Linked DNA regions of Homo sapiens: regions 1, 3, 4, 5, 6 and 7 are each linked to region 2. The links are contacts of gene promoters, found by promoter capture Hi-C in blood cells and fetal thymus (Javierre and others, 2016). All regions are on one chromosome and are shown on one strand. Each heading gives the region's core, a stretch centred on a gene start or on the middle of the fragment in contact. The rest is flanking DNA. Distances are from core to core; before and after follow the strand shown. Region 1 overlaps MDN1-AS1 (MDN1 antisense RNA 1). Region 2 holds the start of SNHG5 (small nucleolar RNA host gene 5). Region 3 has its middle 9.4 kb from the start of ANKRD6. Region 4 overlaps TENT5A (terminal nucleotidyltransferase 5A). Region 5 holds the start of MDN1 (midasin AAA ATPase 1). Region 6 overlaps LOC124901363 (a long non-coding RNA gene). Region 7 overlaps RRAGD (Ras related GTP binding D).

Region 1 (2,900 bases), core at 250-2,749, 4.0 Mb before region 2:
GTGCCACTGCACTCCAGCCTGGGCAACAGAGCAAGACTCTATCTCAACAACAACAATAAAATCTCACTTTGGATAACTTCTTCACCACTCCCGTGGCCTCCACCATCACTGAAGCAAAAGGACTGTAAAATTCTCCATCCAGGGGTCCAGGAAATCTACTCTTTGGTATTCTTAATTATATTCAGACATCTGCTGGATGTCACTGTGTTCTAATTCCCCTATTCCAAACCCATTCCTTCAACATTCCCCATCTGGGATGACCACTCCAACAGCCACCCTGTTTACAAACTTGGGACTTAACCTATACATCTGCTTTACTTCCTTCTCCATCTCTATCCATACCCCAATCAAATTAATTAATCATCTTGTCCAGTCAGGCTTCTGGATATCCTGTCCCATCCCTCCCCCTCCCCCTACTGCACTGTGACTGGGACTCTTTTAATCTCTAGCAGGGACTACTTCAATGGTATCCTGGCCAGGCCAGTAACTTCTCTTTGCTTGCTTCACTTCATCCTATTCACAACATCCAAGATCTTTCTAAAAGTTCTGTAGCTGAAAATCCCTTCAAAGCTCTCCCTTGTGAAGAGGGTAATATTCAAGCTTCTTCATGTGACCTGTGAGGCTCTTGCTTGACTCTCCTGTCCCTCCTCTCCCAGCATTCCTGCCAGTGTTTCCATGTGTTGTCTGGAATCCTCTTAGTGATTCTGCGTTTCTGACAAATACCTAGCTCAGACAAGCCCTCCAGGAAGAATAATTTCCCACAGTATGAACTGCAGCATTCTTTGTTAGCACTATATTGAACTTAGAGGTTTTCCTGCCCAAAGCATGAGTCTTTGAGCAAGGAGCATATGTGACTCACGACAGCATTACCAGTGTCTAGCAAGAGTGAGCCCTTTTTTTTTTTTTTTTTTTTTTTTAAATAGAGCTTTGCTCTTGTTGCCCAGGCTGGAGTGCAATGGCGCAATCTCGGCTCACTGCAACCTCCGTCTCCCAGGTTCAAGCGATTCTCCTGCCTGAGCCTCCCAAGTAGCTGGGACCACAGGCGTGCGCCACCAGGCCCGGCTAATTTTTTGTATTTTAGTAGAGACGAGGTTTCACCATGTTGGCCAGGCTGGTCTCGAACTCCTGACCTCAGGTGATCCACCTCGGTATCCCAAAGTGTTGGGATTATAGGCATGAGCCACCGCACCTGGCCTGAGTGTTTCTTGATGGGAAGAAGAAATAATGTAAAAATGTCTTTCTCACATATTAATGTATAGATTCAACACTACTTCAAAATTCCAACCAAGATCACAAGATGATTTGGAGGGAAATGATACAAAACATTTCTAAAGATTATAGAGAACAGTACTAATGGATTTTTTACAAGAAACTAGAGTCCTGCCAGATAATAAAAACATATAAAACAAAAAGTAAAAACTTAACCCTAAATGAAACAATTCTGGACAGATTACTCAGACCCTAAAAGAATTTATCATACAGTCAAAAAGGCATCCATCATAAAGCCCCGAAAAAGGAATGAGTTATGTAATCAATGGTATTGATACAGCTTAACATCTAGAAAAGAACTTAGATCCACGTGATGCTGTAAACCAAAGTAAATTCTAGATGGAGTAAATATTTTAAAAATTAAAGTTTTTAAAAAACGAATTACAAAGGCCTGAATGGGAAATGAAAAGCCTCAAAAGGCACAAAAATACATGATTGTATAAAGTTTCTGTATGTATAAAGAAATGACAAAAAATATAGAGCCCATATAAATGTCCTCATCATAAACGGACCCAAGTCATGAACAATTCACAAAAACAGTATAACTAAAAATGGCGAGGGGTATTTAACTTCACTCCTTTTAAAAAGTTAGCAATTAACTATTACAGCTAATGTATTAGACAAAATTTGGCATATATTATTGATAATATGATCATGCAGTTAGCATCATTCATACAATGCCTGGTAAAGTTCAAAAGAGCTAATGATTAGAGTTCTTACATGTGCCAGGACCTGTTCTCAGTACATTAGAGATACACAACTGAGGTAGATGCTATATTTCACTTTACAGGGGAGGTAATAGGCCAGGAGAGGGGAAATAGCCAGAACACAGCTAGGAATAGGGAGCCCCAGGATGCTAACAGGCGAGGCAAGCAAGTCCCCAGTAAACTAGTAATTGAACATTTTTCGTTCTATTTTAATTCGATACAACACCACTTGGAAAATTAATATGGCAAAGATTCGCTAACTCCACTTCTAGTGATTTAACCCAAAGGCATGTGTATTGTGGGAAAGATAAAACAACTATAAGGAAATAAAAGCAAAAGCCTGAGGCTTAGGGATGTTAGGCTCCTCGTTATTAGTGATGAAAAGTGCTTAAGACTGAAGTGGGTGAGCCATTCAAAGCTTTGTTTCAAATGATCATGAAGGCCACCGCTCCCGGAAAACCTTTGCGCTACAAAAGAACAGGACAAAAACGAGAAAGAGAAAAAACCAACACAAACTGTAAAAGAAATTAACACTTTCAATTTTAGTATTTTCAACTATACACATTTTTAAAGGCTCGAAAGAACATTTAAATACGTTTTCACCTCTTTCCCCCAAAAAAACCTTAACTTTTTTTTCGAGACAGGGTCTCGCTCTGTCGCCCAGGATGGAGTGCAGTGGTGCGATCTCGGATCACTGCAACCTTCACTTCTCGGGTTCAAGCGATTCTCCTGCCTCAGCATCCCGAGGAGCTGGGATTACAGGCACCTTACAGGCCTCCCAGAGTGCTTGGGACTGCAGGTGAGAGCCACCGCGCCCGGCCTCCTTCACTTTCATTTGAACTCTCTTTACCAGGAACTGTGTTAAGTGCCCTACCTTTCTTCTTTATCAAAACGACCCTATGGTGCACTGTTATCCTATTTTAC
Region 2 (2,700 bases), core at 136-2,635:
TACTATTTACTATGAGCAATATGCAAATTTATGTAAGACATTACAAAGTAATACAAAAACCGACAAAATGCCCGGCCCAGTCAATACTTCATCATATAGGTTCCTGTTAGAGAAAAGTGCTTTTCACTACTATCTTTGAATGTGAAGTTTGATCTTCATTCTAATTTTCTAAAAAGCCACCGAATGTATTTGTTCATTCATTCATTCATTTAACCATTACCGACAACCTACTTAATGCTAGGCACTGTTCTAAGAAAAAATAAACAGCAGAGCACGAAATCAGATGTGTTGCTCCCACACTCTAGCAGAATCGGACCGTAATCAAATGCACACATAAACAACTTTAATAAGTAGTGCTTTGAAATATAGAAGTGAAGAACGACCTGAATTTTCAAATACTGAAATGTTCAAATGTCGTGTGCACACACACACACGCAGACATATTCACTCGAACATGCTAATTAATCAAAGCACTGCTTTTGAATTTTGTGTTTGTCGTCTGGATAAAGTATTCAGGGATACTTCTCAAATTAATCTTTCTCTCGTTTTCAATATAACTAATTGAGTACAAAGAAGTTAAAAATTAGCAAAGCATTTCAGCTGTGTGACCTTAGGCAAATTACCTGGCTGTTTTAAGCCTCAGTTTTCTCCTCTGCGAAATGGAGTATTGAACCTCACGTTCGCTGTTTGAGGGAGACTTGTATGGTCACGTTTAGTGTAACCGGATGCCTGGCACGAGGAAGCGTGAGGAGGAATGGATCCCCATGGGGCCTTGATGCCCGCCCTGAGGCCCTGCAGGGCCGCACGCCGGGGCTGTTCTCACGTGGCGCTTTCCGCTTTTTCACCCAAGCGTTTCTGCCAGCCAACTGCCCTTTCCCGGAGTGCTGCGGCCAGGGCTCGCCCGCTCCTCCGGCGGCCTCCGCTGGGGGCCCACTACAGCCCAGCGCCAGCCAGCCAGCCAGCCCAGCTTCTCGAATCGGTCCTAAGCTGAGGCCGCCCTGCGCTGCAAAACTTGTGTCCACTCTCGGACCCAATCTGTCCTGGACGGACTTGGCTCGTGGCAGGCGAAAGCGTCGTTTCCAACTGCAGCTGTTTGAATTCTGGCGCCACACCCGCGCCACGTAGGGCCAAGTCGGCCGCCAGACTCGTAAGAGACGCTTCGCAGTGCGCCTGCGGGCGCGCGCCGGGAAATGGCCGGGCGCGCGGCCGGCCTGCGGCGCGCTCCACAACGCGGAACGGGCCTCAGAAGAGCCACCGCGCGCGCTCCCGCTAATTCGCGACCACACCCCTGTCTACTTCCATGTCCAATAGGTGCGAGAGGGCGGGACGGCCTCGTTCTGACTCCGGGAGGCTATATAAGGAGCTACTGGCTGCGCACTTCGGTCTTTTACGTCGGCCTTCGCGAGCGTCTGGGCGGGTGGTAGGTGAGTGGGTATTGCGGGCTAGTATCCGAGCAAAAGATGGTGGCGCAGGCCGAGTTAAGAGCTTTAATCCTGTGAAGACATCTTAGTGAAGAGTTTAGAGTGCTGAGAGTTGAAAGCTTGCACGTGGGAAACGTGCGGCCGGACTGCCACATGTACTGAGGTTGAGTCGTGACGGCCACAGGCTCCGAGTTTTGGCGTGAGGAACCGCTGATCGGCCACGGGCGCCGAACTTGCTGGCCTCCGGCATGTGCCTGAGCGGCGGCGGAAAAACCACCTTAATTGGGGCGGAGGGTTAGTTTTAACAGCAAAGGGCCTTTACTAAAATGGCGAAGGCCTTCCGTCGGCGTTGTTTTAAAATGGGAAGCCTCGACCCTGTATTGAAACTGAGCTGTTCGAAGGCGGCGTTGTGTGCAATTCGGATTAATGAAGGGGAAGGGTTTTGTGTGGAAAAACGCCTTGGAGTGTGACATTTCTGCGAGAATGCTTAAATACCGATTTCCCGCAGGAACAATGGCGCTGTCTTCAGTGGCACAGTGGAGCAGCTCTGAAGATGCAAAGGTAAGAGCTTAGTTAAGCTTAGTTTCCAAACTAAAGGAGTAAACCTGTTGATTTACAGGAATAGGAACTGTTGCATCGTTTGAAATTTACTTTTTTTTGTTAGATACACGAAAAAACTTCCAGAACATCTGGGAGAATATTTAATGGAAAATCGCTTGGTTAAAACCTGACACTTTTAACAGGTATGTGTTGTTTTAGTACTTTATGATTGAGCATAGCATTTAATCCACACCTAGACTAAATCAAATTTTTTTTGTCAGTGAACAGCGTTCTGAGTGTGGACGAGTAGCCAGTGAAGATAATGAATGTCGAATGTGACTGACTAGCAGCTTCATTTTGAAGTAGGTTGTATGGCTTAAAAGTTCTGTAGTATTTGTACTATAATACTTGCCTTTTAGCATTACCTTGGTTTGTAGTCAGTGTCACAGAAGTGCAGTTTAATGTATTATGTGTACATATACAAGGTCTGATTGGTCTAATCAATGATGAAACCTATCCCGAAGCTGATAACCTGAAGAAAAATAAGTACGGATTCGGCTTCTGAGATTAAGACCAGTAATTCAGAGGTGGAGTAAATTTTGTTGCCGTGATTTTATAACAGTTGTGTTATAAAATCCTGGGTTTTTTTTTTTTCTGCCAACAGTGAGGGTCGCTGTCTGCCCATTGATAGAGGCCAGATTGTCTTGGAAGTTCCAAAGTTGCAACGATTTCTGTAAGT
Region 3 (2,700 bases), core at 22-2,521, 3.7 Mb before region 2:
TATATTTCGTCCAGATTATAGCTACTGTGCTAGGCACTGAGAATAGAATGGTGGACAAAAGAAGATGGTCCCACAGTCTAGTTGTGAATACAGTCCTCAATCAAATCTTAAATTACAATTGAGACAAATGCTCTAGAGGACTAGTACCTAGTGATATGTAGTGCACAATTAGGGGATTAGGCCAGGAGTGAACCACTGGCTCAAACTCAGCCAATCAGATTTTCTTGCCTGGGAATTAAAGATAATAATAGCTAACACTTATATAGTGCTTACTGTCTGATATGGTTTGGCTCTGTGTCCCCACCCAAATCTCATTTTGAATTGTACTCCCATAATTCCCACGTGTTGTGGGAGGGGCCCAGTGGGAGATAATTGAATCATGGGGGTGGTTTCCCCATACTGTTCTTGTGTTAGTGAATAAGTCTCATAAGATCTGATGGTTTTATCAAGGGTTTCTGCTTTTGCGTCTTCCTCATTCTCTCCTTGCCTGCTGCCATCCATGTAAGACAGGACTTGCTCCTCCTTGCCTTCCACCATGATTGTGAGGCTTCTCCAGCCACGTGGAACTGTAAGCCCAATTAAACCTCCTTCTTTTGTAAAATTGCCCAGTCTCAGGTATGTCTTTATCAGCAGCACGAAAACAGAGTAATACATGGTCCTAAATTATTTTATATAGTTTAATGGATTTAATTCCTTCCCACAACCCTACTGAGGTATGTTACATTATCAGTAGTTTAGAGATGAGTAAATTGAGGCACAGAGAGGTTAAGTAACTTGCTACAGGTCACACAGATACTAAGGATGGAGTTAGGATTTAAACCTAGGAAGCCTGATTCCAGAGGATGGGCCCACTATCACTGGGACCAGGAGGGTGGGGCAGCTGTCTCCTGCCCTCTGGTAGGAAAAGCACAGAAAGCCAATTTTCATGCAGAGAGAGAAGAATAAAGGGAGAAGTGCAGAGAGAAGTAAAAGCAAGGTCCCCCCTCCAGCGTTTTTTGAGACAGGGTCTTACTCTCTGTCACCTACACTAGAGCGCAGTGGTGCCGTTGTAGCTTACTGCAGCCACAAACTCCTGGGCTCAAGTGATTCTTCCGCCTCTGCCTCCCAAGTAGCTGGGATTACAGGCACATGCCACCGTGTCTAGGTAATTTTATTTTTTATTTTTGGTAGAGATAGAGTCTTGTTTTGTTGCTCAGGCTGGTCTTGAACTCCTGACTTCAAGTGATCCTCTTGCCTTGGCCTCACAAAGTGCTGGGATTATAGGGATGAGCCACCGCACCCAGCCATGGTCCCTTTCTTGAGGAGTCTCAATTGTCTCCTGTAATATCCAGAGACACCTTTACCAGGATCCTTTGAATATGATATGACTCCTGAATTTCATCACCAAGTATATGATCAAGTTCATCCATCCTTTCTTCTCTCCACTCATAAAGGATATATATTGTGTCAGTTGCTGCAAAGTTTAGAGCACCCCATCCACATGGCTTAAGCTGAACTTCCCAACTGGTTCGCCACCACCACTTGGGTGCCATAAATGGCTTACAGGTATGGCCAAGTTTTTGATCCCCTCAGCCTTTAGGGCAGCTAGGCAAGGCCTGAGGGTGACTAAAGTCTTCAGGCCAGTCACCTCTGGCTGTAAGTAGCCTGTCCATTTACACAGAATTGTACCATACAAATAGTATCTTTCTTTTTTCTTTTCTTGTAAGAGATGGGGTCTTGTTCTGTTGCTCAGGCTGGAATGCAGTGGTGCGATCATAGCTCACTGTGGCCTCGAACTCTTGGGCTCAAGAAATCCTCCTGCCTCAGCCAATTTTTAAATTTCTTTGTAGAGATGGGAGTTTTGCTATATTGCCCAGGTTGGTCTTAAACTCCTGTTCAAGCAATCCTCCCACCTCAGTCTTCCAAAGAGCTGGAATTATAGGAGTGAGCCACCGCTTAGGTCCAAATAGTATCATTTTCTATGTGTGCCATTACCATAGAAGGTGGGGAAGCACTAGCTTAAGGAATAGACTTATAATTTTCTCCTGAAATAAGAAGTGTGGGCTCTTTCTGCTGCCATCTTTATATTCCCTGCACAGGTCTGGCACTGAATCTTGCAGTGAAGAATCAGTACCAGAACTCAAGGAACAAAATTCCACAGAATAAGCCCAGGTGGCAGCAGCAGCCGCATTTGATGAAGAACCAGTCAAGAAAGCAAAACACAGTCAGAGTGAAGGGTAGGCACATAGCCAGGCACGGTGGCTCACAGCTGTAATCCCAGCACTTTGGGAGGCCGAGGCAGATAGATCACTTGAGGTCAGGAGTTCGAGACCAGCCTGGGCAACATGGTGAAACCCCATCTCTAGTCTAAGTACTAGTCTAGTATTTGTACTAAAAATACAAAAGTTAGCCAAGTATGGTGGCACGTTCCTGTAATCCCAGATACTCAGGAGGCTGAGGCAGGAGAATCACTTGAACTCAGGAGGCAGAGGTTGCAGTGAGCTGAGATTGCACCACTGCACTCCAGCCTGGGCGACAGAGTGAAACTCCGTCTCAAAAGACAGAAAGAAAGAAAAGAAAAGAAGGCACAGAAGGCTATGGCTATGTCCAAACTGGGTCTGTGAAAGGCTATGAGGGTTACTAGAGTCGCTATCCCGAAATCTAAGAATATCCTCTTTGTCATCACAAAACCAGATGTCTACAAGAGCCTAGCTTCAAACA
Region 4 (2,774 bases), core at 144-2,643, 3.9 Mb after region 2:
CTGCTTTGAGGTGTTCTGTTGCAGCAAGCTGCACCTTGGGTCACTCTTTTGGAATATTTTGACTATAGGCTGCGTCACAGGCAGAAAAGGAGTTGATGGAAAATGGACTAAAAAACTGACATGTTTGAATCAGTGCTAGAGGGAACAGATTGTGAATTTTGTTTACAGCATCCAATATTTGGATTTTTTTGTAAATAAAAAAGTTATTTTTTTCTATTGATTTGTGTTTGCTGTCTACAATGTCTGTATTGACTAAAGACCATGTCCTTTGAATCCCAACCCACGTCCTTTAGAAAAGGCAGAGCGGTACATAGAGAAGAGTAGCCTTCAGCCACTTTCTGATTGAAGCACAATAAATGAAAACATCCAGCTGTCAGTCAGCCCATCTCTGACTGGCTCAGTTAGCTCCAAAAGCATCTAGCTAATAGATGCCAACAATTTTTTTGTCTGGGTATCAATTTAGCAGTGTTAAGTGACCAGAAGTCAGAACTGTTTTCCGATATCAGTAGAGACTCATGGCTCTAGTAGGCTGTAGGGCTCTAGTAGCTCTGCGTGAGCCTTGGTCTTCCTGAGTAGCCTTAGGGCTGTGATTTCATCAGTGGTTATATAGATTCTGTTCGAGGCTCTATAGTGTTATTCAGAGTTTTTACGTTGGGGTGAGAGGAATTGGTGGCCAGGAATTGAAAGAGGAAGTATAGAGAAGGAAGAGCAATCAAAAGATCTAGTATGTTCTGTGTGTGTGTGTGTGTGTGTGTGTGTGTGTGTGTGTGTTGGGTGCAAGGAAATCACCCTTTTGTCTAGCATTTAATGTAACCTCACCTATTCAAATTGCTAGGGGGCATACATTTATGTATTAATTAAAATTTTTCTTAGTGTAATTTTGGAGATGGTCTCAATGCTAGTAGTATGAGAATTTGGTAAGCCCAGGCTACTATAGGATATACATGTGGTTGTAAAAACCACTTAAAGTCTTGATCTTGAATAGAATGCATGCTTGACACCGAGTCTGTGAAAGAGCAACTCTTGGCATTGAAAACCAGCTTCCTTCCCGTATACAGTGCATCATAAAAATACAAGGTGGTTATTTGGTTTGATAATGGTATTTGTGTGTCATTTTCTTCTTCCTTTGTTGCAGCCTCTTCATTCTACAGCCAGTTCCTCATATGTCTGTGGTCACCACATAATTATTTTTAAACAATGGTTGAATAAGAGCAGTATATATTAAACTTCTCCTAGGCTTAGATATACCCTGCCATTTCTAGTTGAATTACTAGGCTGCCCCTCCTAGCTGAGCCTGGAGAGAAGTAATCCACCCTTCCTTTCCTTAGTAACCTCATTCCCTAAACTTCTAATTCCTTTAGTAAGAAAAAGAAAGAACAAAATATACCAAAAAAGAAAAATAAATTAATATCATAGTTTTTAAATATAAAGTAGAATAAGGTTTGTTAAAATCAAGTAATTCCAAAATTAAACTCTAATTTTCTTTAAAGGACCAAGTTTGAGATCAACAATATGAACACAGTATCCTTCAGTCTAATAGCAAATACATCACGTAGGACCGAGGGAGGAGAAATGATTTTAAAATGACAGTGGCTTTTACCTAGCATGACTCAGATCTTGGTTTCTAATGCCATTCTCCAATAAAAGGAACTAGAAGTTGAATCTATGTCTGGAGCAGGAAATATATAAGAGAAGCCTGAAGCATCTTGTGGTGCCTTGAGAAAGCATAAAAAAAAGATAAAAATCATAATGATGAGGGTGGCAGGGGTATGTCAAAGGGACATAGGAGCTAACTGAAAGAGCTCCAATAGCCAAAGCTGGAACAATTTAAGCAACAAAATAAATAGTAATGGATTATAACACAACGAGTAAAGTATCCATGCATTCACACTGATATAAATAAATGATTGAATGAACAAATGGAGGGAAAGAAATTTACTGTGCAGGATTCCAAATAATCAATGTAGATATTGGCCCTTCAAGGAGGTGGAGGTTAACTACCCACCTCTTAAGTGTAGGCTGTGCATAGTGACTTATGTCCAAAGATTACAATCTGGAAAAGGGAAAAAGAAGAGTACTGTACCATTGCAAAAACCGAACAAACACTACCTCAGCCAGCTGATCAAGGCCAACATAAGTAGTGACAAGTCATGATGATAGTATGTGCCCTTGTTGTGATGTGATAAGAATGGCACTTCACCTCTGTGGTTTTTTCCTCAACACTCTAAAACCTGCCAAATCTTGAGAACAGCATCATCCAAAACTAAATTGTGGGGCATTCTGTAAAATACTGGACCAGTATTCCTTAAATTATTAAAACAAAGAAAGTGTGAAAACTGCCATTGCCAAGAGGAGCCTAAAGAGACATATGACTTAAGTGTAATGTGGGATCCTGGTGGGGTCTGGCAACAGAAAAGAGCACTTGGTAAAATCTAAGGAAATCTGAAGCAAGCATTATTGAAATAATAATGGTTCAATATCAGCTCATTAGTTGTAACATGTAGTATGATGTCGACAAAAGGAGAAACTGGGTATGGGGTATATAGGAACTTTCTATATCATCACTTTTTAAAAATAAAAGTATTCTCACATAAAAAGTTTATTTAAAAATGAAGACTGGCCGGGCATGGTGGCTCATGCCTGTAATCCCAGCACTTTGGGAGGCTGAGGCGGGAGGATCACGAGGTCAAGAGATCGGGACCATCCTGGCCAACATGGTGAAACCTCGTCTCTACTAAAAATGCAAAAATTAGCTGGATGTGGTGGTGCATGCC
Region 5 (2,799 bases), core at 123-2,622, 4.1 Mb before region 2:
TTCACCATGTTGGCCAGACTGGTCTCCAACTCCTTATCTCGTGATCTGCCTGCCTTGCCTTGAGCCACTGCGCCCAGCCCACAAGTGCACTTTTAATGTTATGGACTCTACTATTTTTTATGACTTCCAGAATATGCTATAACTTACACCCCATAGTTTAATATTCCCAATTGAACATTTTCTTCCAATATCTGTATTAAGAAAACTGCAAGGGGTGTCTTTGTCACACTTAGTGAGGATTTCCGCAGGCTAGAGTCCTACAAGGGGAATTGCTGGGGCAGAATGTTAACTAGTTAGGTATGAGCAGAACAGGAGAGCGCTCCCCACCCCACACATACCAGGACTATTGGGTGACAATCAAACGATGGTCAGGCGGTTCTTAACTGTTTCTCTAACGTTCACCGGGGCCAGCGAAAGGCAGTCTCCTAATAGAAAACACCTGAAACTGATCAGTAGCTTCCCAGTAAGATCTCAGGAGTGGGGAGAAGCAATGCAAGTTCCCCAAAGTATGCCAACATATAAAACTTCAAGTCAACAGGTCAAGCTGCGCACTTGGTTTCTCAAGTCGCCTGCTTGGCAGTCTTCCAAGTTGTACTTTCCTCCTTTTCTTTCCGTCCCGTTCTAAAGCTTTTTGATAAACTTTTACTTCTATTCTGAAACTTGTCTAGGTCTATCCTGCCTTATGCCCTTCGTGGAATTATTTCTTCTGAGGAGGCAAGAACTAAGGTTACTGCTGACCCCTACCTATACAGGGGGTAACTGCCACCGCTAACAAGAAGGGGAGAATCAGCTTTTCTTTCTTTTTTTGAGACAGTAAAAGTCTGCTGTGTCGCGCGGCTGGAGTGCAGCTGCACGATCTCGGCTTACTGTAACCTCCGTCTCCCGGGTTCAAGCGATTCTCCTGCCTCAGCCTCCCGAGTAGCTGGGACTACAGGCGCGCGCCACCACGCCCGGCTAATTTTTGTATTTTTAGTAGAGAAGGGGGTTTCACCATGTTGCCCAGGCTGGTCTCGAACTGCTAACCTCAAGTGATCTGCCCTCCTCGGCCTCCCAAAATGCTGGGATAAAGACATGCGCCACCGCGCCCGGCCGAGAATCAGCTTTTCTCTCACATCTGATCTTTCCGTGTGTTAAGGCAGAAGCAAGGCACGGTGGGCTGAGACTCACACGCCCCCTCTTTCCTCCCCGGCCTAACGCACTCTTCTTTCTGTCCCACCACGTGCTGTGTTCGCGAGTCCCCATCACTCCTGCATCCAAACCGACTAGATTTTTGTTTCCATTTCCCTCCCGGAAAAGGCGGGACAGCGAAGACTGGCGTTTCCGCCGCTGAGGGGCTGAGGCCGGGAGGGCGCAGCGTAGCCGTCCCGAGCTGATGACGTCAAACGCCGTGTGCTCACCCACGTGTGGTGCCCCTCTCCCGGTGTAGGCGCTGGAGCTGAGGACGCCTTTCCTGCGGGCGTAGTTGCTGGCTGCTCGGGCACTGGGACCTCGGCGGCTTGGGGACGCTGGCCGCGAAGTAGGGAGCGCAGGTGGCCGCTCGGGGTGAGGGCCCTGGGTCATGGAGCACTTCTTGCTGGAGGTGGCAGCCGCGCCGCTGCGGTTAATCGCAGCCAAGAACGAGAAGAGCCGCAGTGAGTTGGGCAGGTTCTTGGCCAAGCAGGTAAGACGTGAAGGGAGAGGGAAAGCGCCGGAACGACTGGGTCGCCCCACTAGTAAGCTTCCTGCGCTCCCCCGCCGATACTCGCCGCTTTAAGTGGGGAGTGGTGCAGCCTCAGGTCAAGCTGGCCCCCTCCTGTGGGCTGGCGCAGGTCGTGGAGGTTTCCGAGCGTGTTTGAGGCGATTGGAAGGAGTCTTTTGTTTTTATCTGGGGGAGCCTTCCAGTACCCTTCCCATCGCCTCTCACCCCTATGCAAGCGCTTTGGCTGCTTGTGGCAGAGGTGGCCTTCCCAAAGGAATGTGGTTTGTTTTTCTGAAATTGAGGTTGCGTTTCTGCCGTTTTGACAAGTGTACGTATCACCTAAGTGTGCGTAGTGCAGCCACTCCTGTTAGTTTGGGGAACCATCGACAAATACTGATTGCATTCCTGCTGTGCGTAAGGAACGGTGTGGCGCTGTGAGAAAGTGGATAGATAAATTCGTTACGATCTCTGCCATGAGGGAAATTTGCATCTGTTTTTGGAGACAGTTCGTAAACACTTACAACAGCTGAAGTACAGAGCAAGACAGCTCATACTCACTGTAACTAACTATACAAATTATAAGGTTAATTAGAGTTTTCTGGGAAATAGGTCTTCGGGCTTTTAAGAACCTTCTCATTGACTCCTTCTATCTGAGTTGAAGACACTTTTTTTTTTTTTTTGAGACGGAGTCTCGCTGTGTCGCCAGGCTGGAGTGCAGTGGCGCGATCTCGGCTTACTGCACCCTCCGCCTCCCGGGTTCAGGCGATTCTCCTGCCTCACCCTCTCAGTAGCTGGGATTACAGGCGAGCGCCACCATGCCTAGCTACTTTTTGTATTTTTAGTAGAGACGGGGTTTCACCATGTTGGCCAGGATGGTCTCGATCTCTTGACCTCGTGATCCACCCGCCTCAGCCTCCCAAAGTGCTGGGATTACAGGCGTGAGCCACGGGACAGGTGAGTGTGGTCCCAGGTACTTGGGTCCCAGGTGTGGCTAATTAAAAAAAAAATTTTTTTTTTGTAGTTGTAAGGTCCCCCTTTGTTGCCCCGACTGGTCTGGAACCCCTGGGCTCAAGTGATCATCCCGCCTTGGCCTCCCAAAGTGCAGGGATTGTAGGAGTGAG
Region 6 (2,788 bases), core at 233-2,732, 4.9 Mb before region 2:
ATCAAGTTGACACAAAATTAACCATCACAGAGCTCAATCTGAATAAACATATGAATAATGAGCATTTGCTGGTTGCATACCCACCACCCATCAACCATTGCCTGCTTTGCTGTTCCTAAGAGTATTAAGATTTTCCTTCGGGTTAGCATCTCCTCCTCCTCCTTAGAGCCCATGTTTCCAGGAGCCCTCAATCTAAGTTAAACAACGTACAGTCATGCATTGCTTAACTACAGGGATAAGTTTTGAGAAGTGTGTTGATCGGCAATTCCACCATTATGTGAACATCATAGAGTGTACTTATACAAACATTATATACTTATATCATTACAAGATGACATAGCCTACTATACACCTAGGCTATATGGTATACCTAGGTATATAACAGCTATACCTGTTCCTAGGCTACAAGCTGTATAAACCATGTTACTATACTGAATACTGCAGGCAAATGTAACACAATGGTATTTGTGTATCTAAACATAGAAAAGGTACAGTAACGAAACAATATAAAAGATTTAAAAAAATGGTACACCTATATAGGGCACTCACCATAAATGGAGTTTGCAAGACTGGAAGTTACTCTGGGTGAGCCAGTGAGTGACTGGTGAGTGAATGCGAAGGCCTAGAACATTACTGTACACTACTGTAGACTTTATAAACACTGTACTCTTGGGTTACACTAAATTTATTTTTTAAAAGTTTTCTTCAACAATAAATTAACCTTAGCTTATTATAACTCTTTTACTTCATAAACTTTTAAATTTTTTAAAACTTTTTGACTCTTTTGTAATAACACTTAGCTTTAAAACACAAACACACTGAACAGCTGTACAAAAGTATTTTATTTGGATCCTTATTCTATACACTTTTTTCTGTTTATTTATTTTTTTATAGTTTTTAAACGTTTTGGCTAAAAAGTAAGACAAACATATGTTGGCCTAGGTCTACCTACACAGGGTCAGGATCATCAACATCACTATCTTCCACCTCCACATCTTGTCCCACCAGAAAGTCTTCAGGGGCAATAACACGCACGGAGCAGTCATCTCTTATGATAACAATGCCTTCTTCTGGAATACCTCCTGAAGGACCTGCCTGAGGCTGTTTTATAGTTTTTTTATGGAAGTAGGAGTACACTGTAAAATAACAATTAAAAAGTATAGTATAGTAATTATATAAACCAGTAACATAGTTGTTTATCATTATCAATATTATGCACTGCACATAATTGTATTATACTTTTGTATGACTAGCAGCATAAGTTTGTTTACACCAGTATCACCACAAACACGAGTAATGCACTATAAGTAATGTGTCATGCTATGACATTACTATGGCTACAATGTCACTAGCCAATAGGATTTTTTCAGCTTCATTATAATCATATAGGACCACTGTCACATATGAGGTCCATTGACCAAAAAATCGTTATGCAGCGCATGACTGTGTGTATCCTCAAGCATCCTGTTCCCCATCCCTCAAGGGTAAACTTACCAAGGGCTTTTGAAAAAGAATGTTTAACTGCTCTTCTGAGATGGCTACCAAGAGATGCTCTCGGTTGTACTTTGTGATGTGTCATGTGAAAAATGAAACTGCTAGTACATGCATTCTCAATGGAGGCAATAACACCTCCACAGGGGGCAAAAACTGGAGAGAGAAAAAATCTTACTCTTTTTACATAGAAAGCACAAATATACATACAATACATAAATAGATATACAGTGTATCTGAGGTATTAAAACTTTGAGGAGGGGCATTAAGATGTCTAAAAAGGCTCCTTAAAAGAACAATAATGAAAAAAAAGATTGAAAAACACTATTGTAGAATATAGCAAATACCACAAAAGGCAGAAGAGAATAATGGAAACTCAATTATTGATGTTATCATCAAGCCTATGATGGAAATATGGAACACTTGTCTGACATATATATGACCCAGAACATTAAAGTGGTGTTACTTTAGTCCCAGTTTCTGCTAAGCCTCCATTAAAATAGGTCCCAGATATCCCTACACCCAAAATGAGCCAAATAAGATCAGAATCTCATTTAGAACAAGCAAAGAGGTGGTGGGAAATGGATTTTGAAACCCTTGTCCTCTCAACCCCTGGAGAGTATAAAAGGGCCAAAATTGAAGACAGAGTTGGAAGTTAGAGAGTAGTTATTAGGGTGCTGACATGAGGGAGAATGGTGGAGGGTGCTCAAACTCGGAGGGACTTCAAGGAATTTACTTAAATAGTTTTGATATGTATCCGGAAACGTGTGGAGACACACAGACTGGTGACTGAAGTTGACATGAAATTCTGAGGTCAAGTTTCTATCCTTAATTCATGAAAGTTAAAGGAAATGCAAAGTCAAAATTGAAGTGAACTGAGAGAGGTTCAGCTCCCCTCCATCATTCCTCTGCATTTAAACTTTATTACTTAGGATTATTTGGTTACAAGTGACAAAAATACAACTTGGACCAGCTTAAATGAAATGGTAATTTACTAGCTCACATAACCAAATCACAGAATGTAAGAGATGGATTGGACCTTGGGAATGACTGAACCCAGAGACATAAACACTGATGAAACTTTCCATCTATTACTAGAAGCTAGGGAAAAGGCGCAGGCAGACAAAAAAGAAAAAAGTAATCTGCAAGCAAGTTGGACAAAAATTGATTTTAGACTGGCATCAATATTAGAAGTCCAAATCAGTGGATAAAACATAGAAGTGTTGGGGTAGAAGATATTCAAAATCATGTAATCAATTCACTTTGAAATGCATCTAGCAAAATGGTAGATGGATGT
Region 7 (2,850 bases), core at 65-2,564, 3.7 Mb before region 2:
ATTGTTGAGAAAAATCATTTTTCAGTGGAGCTGGAACAGATTGGAGCTACAAGCTCCAGGAGCAATAAGAACTGTCCCCTATTTATAATGGGTGTAAACAGTTTTGTAGAATAATGCTAGCACCAGACTTACCTAAAAATTTCTATAGCAGTGGCTGTGCTTCCCTGCTCAACGGTTTTTATGAAGCTGTTTACCTCAACACACATCTCTATAATCACTTTATACAGAGAGGTTATTTCTTTTTGTTGCATTAGTATTCTTTTGAAACTTTGGGACCAGATTTCCAAAATGGTGCCGAACACTGGAGAGAAGTAAGAATGTCACTGAATTGTAGGGTTTCTGGAGGCTTTTCTGTACCTACCACCCAGGGCTAAAGTAACATCAGAGGCCTAAAGTTGTTCCAAAAGTATGTGATTGGCAACTGCAGACTAAAAAACATAGATACAATTCTGGACTTTTGGCCCTGTGCGATGGTCTGGTGTGCTGCATTTAAAATGCTTATTCAGGACCAGTTCTTTATTGCTCCATGACCATAGTGAATAGAACAAATCGCAGAACCCCACCATGGAGCTCAATCCTGTTAGTCACTTTTGTCACCTCCACATCTCCTTCTCACTGGTGATAACATGCCTCATGTACTCCACTTGTTCCCACCTTATGATTAAGCCAAGCTCAGCCTGCCACCAGCATGCTCTGCAAGGCTGAAGAGTCATCCTGAAGACCCCTAAAGGTCAGTGGGAAAAGGATGGCTGGAGAGACATTACAATTAGCTGTGTAATTGTTTCTGTGAAATTATTTCACTTATGTTTACTTTAGACTAACAGGAAATTAAGAGTCCTAAATCTACCCCTATGCCAAATCATTCCAAGTAGATAATTTTACGTGCATCTCAAGGGTTAGCACCCTAAGGCATGCTTGTGGGGCATTAGAAAATGAGATTTTTTTTTTTTTAAAGCAGAGCCTCCTAAGAACATCAAAGTTGGTCCTAGCAAAATATATAAAGTCCCTAAAGCAACTTATACTTGAAACTTTTTTTTTTTTTTTTTTTAGAGGGGGGCCTCATTCTGTTGCTTGTGCTGGAATACATTGGTACAATCATAGCTCACTGTTACCTCTTGGGCTCAAGGGATCCTTCCACCTCAGCCTCCCTAGTAGCTAGAACTACAGGTGTGCACAACCACGCCCGGCTAATTCTTAAATTTTGTTTTTGTAGAGACAGGATCTCACTGTGTTGCCCAAGATGGTCTCAAACTCCTGGCCCCAAGCAATCCTCCTGCCTTGGCCTCCTCAAATGCTGAGATTACAGGCCTGAGCTACTGTGCCCAGCCTAAACTTTCCCACTTCTCTCTGTGGCTTCTTTCCAACCTCTCTCCTTCCTCTCCCCAAGTCCTGTTTCTTTGAAGCTGGTAACTGAATTTAAGATGATATCTGGTTGGTGTTTAAGGTTTGAGCCTCCCAAGGTTCTGTGCATTTTGAAAGGAGATTTCTAAAAATAATTAAGGTGCCCTAACTCCTTTCCTCATGATTCCTACTCCGAAACCTGGATGGTTAGGAGCCCAGGGCTCCCTGATTTCCAGAGCTATATCCTGTTGGACCTTTGCCAACAGACCTGACACTTAGGGGTTATTGTTATAAATCTAATTCTCTAATATTTTTTACATGTTGTTTCACTTTGAATAAGCAAATGAAGAATCAGTTTTCTAATATGACTTTATCCTCAAGCTAGAGACACTAGCCTATTTGGTAAATCACACATTACTTAGGTATATTTATTACTATAACCAGGTTGGAGCTTCCATGTTTAAGCTGGGTATATGATGGGTTTTTGTTAAAATGTGCCTTAAAAAGCCTATTACTTCAAGAGCAAATGATTCTTTGGGGGAAAGGCAAAAATAATTCTATGACATAGGGCCCAAGTTCATGGTAGTAAGTGTACTCTTTGATTAATCACACGCTAATATAGATTACTGCCTCTAACTTTGTAAGTGTGGCAATGACTTCTTAATTAAAGAAAGATGCAGGAGTTATGTCTAAGCGTTCAGTTTTTCAAATCTGTGTTATTGGAAATGTCTTCAAGTCATTTTGCATTGTATTTTTGATATGAGAGGCAGCTTATTGCGATGTGTATGGCCATGTTTCATTCTCAAATTTAATTCTATAAATACAAATCCTAAATACATGGCTACAGCAACTGCACTGGAACATTTTTGCTTGGTTTTAGGGATTGAGAACTTGCCTTGCAGGTTTCCTTCCTCAAAAGGAGCAGGGCAGTCCTTTCCCTGTTGAGTCAATTAGAATTTTTACATAGAGGTGAGACTGTGAATTATTTTGGTTATTTTCAGTGATGTAGATTAGTGTGAATGACCAGGGTGGAATGTTTTTGAAGGAATATAAAGCAAAAACTGGTTGACATTCACAAACTGTTCTTTTGTGAACATATTTTGGACCCTTAAATATGACTAAAATCACAGCAATATTGTTACATACGGGTTATATGCCAACTCTGTTTGAAATATACTCTGGAAAAACAGCTGAATTGTCTTGGTTATTAAAGTATGGTATGTATTCAACTTGTACAGACTGGATGTAATTTGTAATCAGGTATAGTCCATGTTTTACTTTAAGCAGTACATCACTTAATAACCATTGTTAAGCCATTGCTTTCAAGAATGTTAACTGCCAATTTAAAAGCATGTGTCCTAGGTTCATGCTTTGGTAAAGCTCTCATTTCAAGTGTATTCATAGCTAAGCTTTCTGGGAGCAGAATTGTCTCTTTGGTGAAAAGGAAGTACAGCCTTTCCTGTTTCTGAGGTTGCTTACCATACATGTATGTCACTGTTTCATTGGCCC

The links. The method cuts DNA at HindIII sites, captures the fragments that hold promoters and counts their contacts. A CHiCAGO score of 5 or more calls a contact.
Region 1: a contact is called between a fragment that was not itself captured here and the fragment with the promoter of SNHG5 in region 2, in 3 of 17 cell types (naive CD8 T cells, neutrophils and non-activated CD4 T cells). The highest score is 8.4, in naive CD8 T cells.
Region 3: a contact is called between a fragment that was not itself captured here and the fragment with the promoter of SNHG5 in region 2, in 1 of 17 cell types (neutrophils). The highest score is 5.4, in neutrophils.
Region 4: a fragment that was not itself captured here is called in contact with the fragment with the promoter of SNHG5 in region 2 in 1 of 17 cell types (neutrophils); the score reaches 5.4 in neutrophils.
Region 5: a contact is called between the fragment with the promoter of MDN1 here and the fragment with the promoter of SNHG5 in region 2, in 1 of 17 cell types (monocytes). The highest score is 8.5, in monocytes.
Region 6: a contact is called between a fragment that was not itself captured here and the fragment with the promoter of SNHG5 in region 2, in 3 of 17 cell types (non-activated CD4 T cells, naive CD4 T cells and naive CD8 T cells). The highest score is 7.5, in non-activated CD4 T cells.
Region 7: a fragment that was not itself captured here is called in contact with the fragment with the promoter of SNHG5 in region 2 in 1 of 17 cell types (neutrophils); the score reaches 5.4 in neutrophils.

The regions. Positions count from the first base shown.
Region 1 is chr6:89,638,889-89,641,788 of GRCh38, reverse strand. All of the region lies in intron 1 of MDN1-AS1 (MDN1 antisense RNA 1), which reads right to left. Among named protein-coding and RNA genes, the nearest start is that of LYRM2, 1.6 kb to the right of the region's middle. The HindIII fragment of the contact is 1,794 bases long and covers 603-2,396 here.
Region 2 is chr6:85,677,418-85,680,117 of GRCh38, reverse strand. It overlaps SNHG5 (small nucleolar RNA host gene 5), which reads left to right and starts at 1,385. Exons shown (of 6, transcript NR_003038.2): 1 at 1,385-1,424; 2 at 1,930-1,982; 3 at 2,086-2,164; 4 at 2,243-2,323; 5 at 2,626-2,694. It overlaps SNORD50B (small nucleolar RNA, C/D box 50B), which reads left to right and starts at 2,459; the gene lies at 2,459-2,529. RefSeq lists enhancers at 1,415-1,574, 1,745-1,804. The HindIII fragment of the contact is 13,479 bases long and covers 1-1,542 here.
Region 3 is chr6:89,422,401-89,425,100 of GRCh38, reverse strand. It overlaps the pseudogene NACAP7. Among named protein-coding and RNA genes, the nearest start is that of ANKRD6, 9.4 kb to the left of the region's middle. The HindIII fragment of the contact is 5,077 bases long and covers 1-2,700 here.
Region 4 is chr6:81,743,176-81,745,949 of GRCh38, reverse strand. TENT5A (terminal nucleotidyltransferase 5A) reads left to right here. Exons shown (of 3, transcript NM_017633.3): 3 at 1-220. Among named protein-coding and RNA genes, the nearest start is that of TENT5A, 8.1 kb to the left of the region's middle. The HindIII fragment of the contact is 3,387 bases long and covers 1-2,774 here.
Region 5 is chr6:89,818,367-89,821,165 of GRCh38, reverse strand. It overlaps MDN1 (midasin AAA ATPase 1), which reads left to right and starts at 1,372. Exons shown (of 102, transcript NM_014611.3): 1 at 1,372-1,660. The coding sequence starts at 1,559. RefSeq lists enhancers at 435-1,054, 1,055-1,674, 1,329-1,718, 2,295-2,799. The HindIII fragment of the contact is 1,090 bases long and covers 630-1,719 here.
Region 6 is chr6:90,588,996-90,591,783 of GRCh38, reverse strand. It overlaps LOC124901363 (a long non-coding RNA gene), which reads right to left. Exons shown (of 2, transcript XR_007059680.1): 2 at 825-1,136. Among named protein-coding and RNA genes, the nearest start is that of MAP3K7, 3.3 kb to the right of the region's middle. The HindIII fragment of the contact is 5,597 bases long and covers 1-2,788 here.
Region 7 is chr6:89,364,724-89,367,573 of GRCh38, reverse strand. RRAGD (Ras related GTP binding D) reads left to right here. Exons shown (of 7, transcript NM_021244.5): 7 at 1-2,850. Among named protein-coding and RNA genes, the nearest start is that of UBE2J1, 13 kb to the right of the region's middle. The HindIII fragment of the contact is 2,876 bases long and covers 1-2,752 here.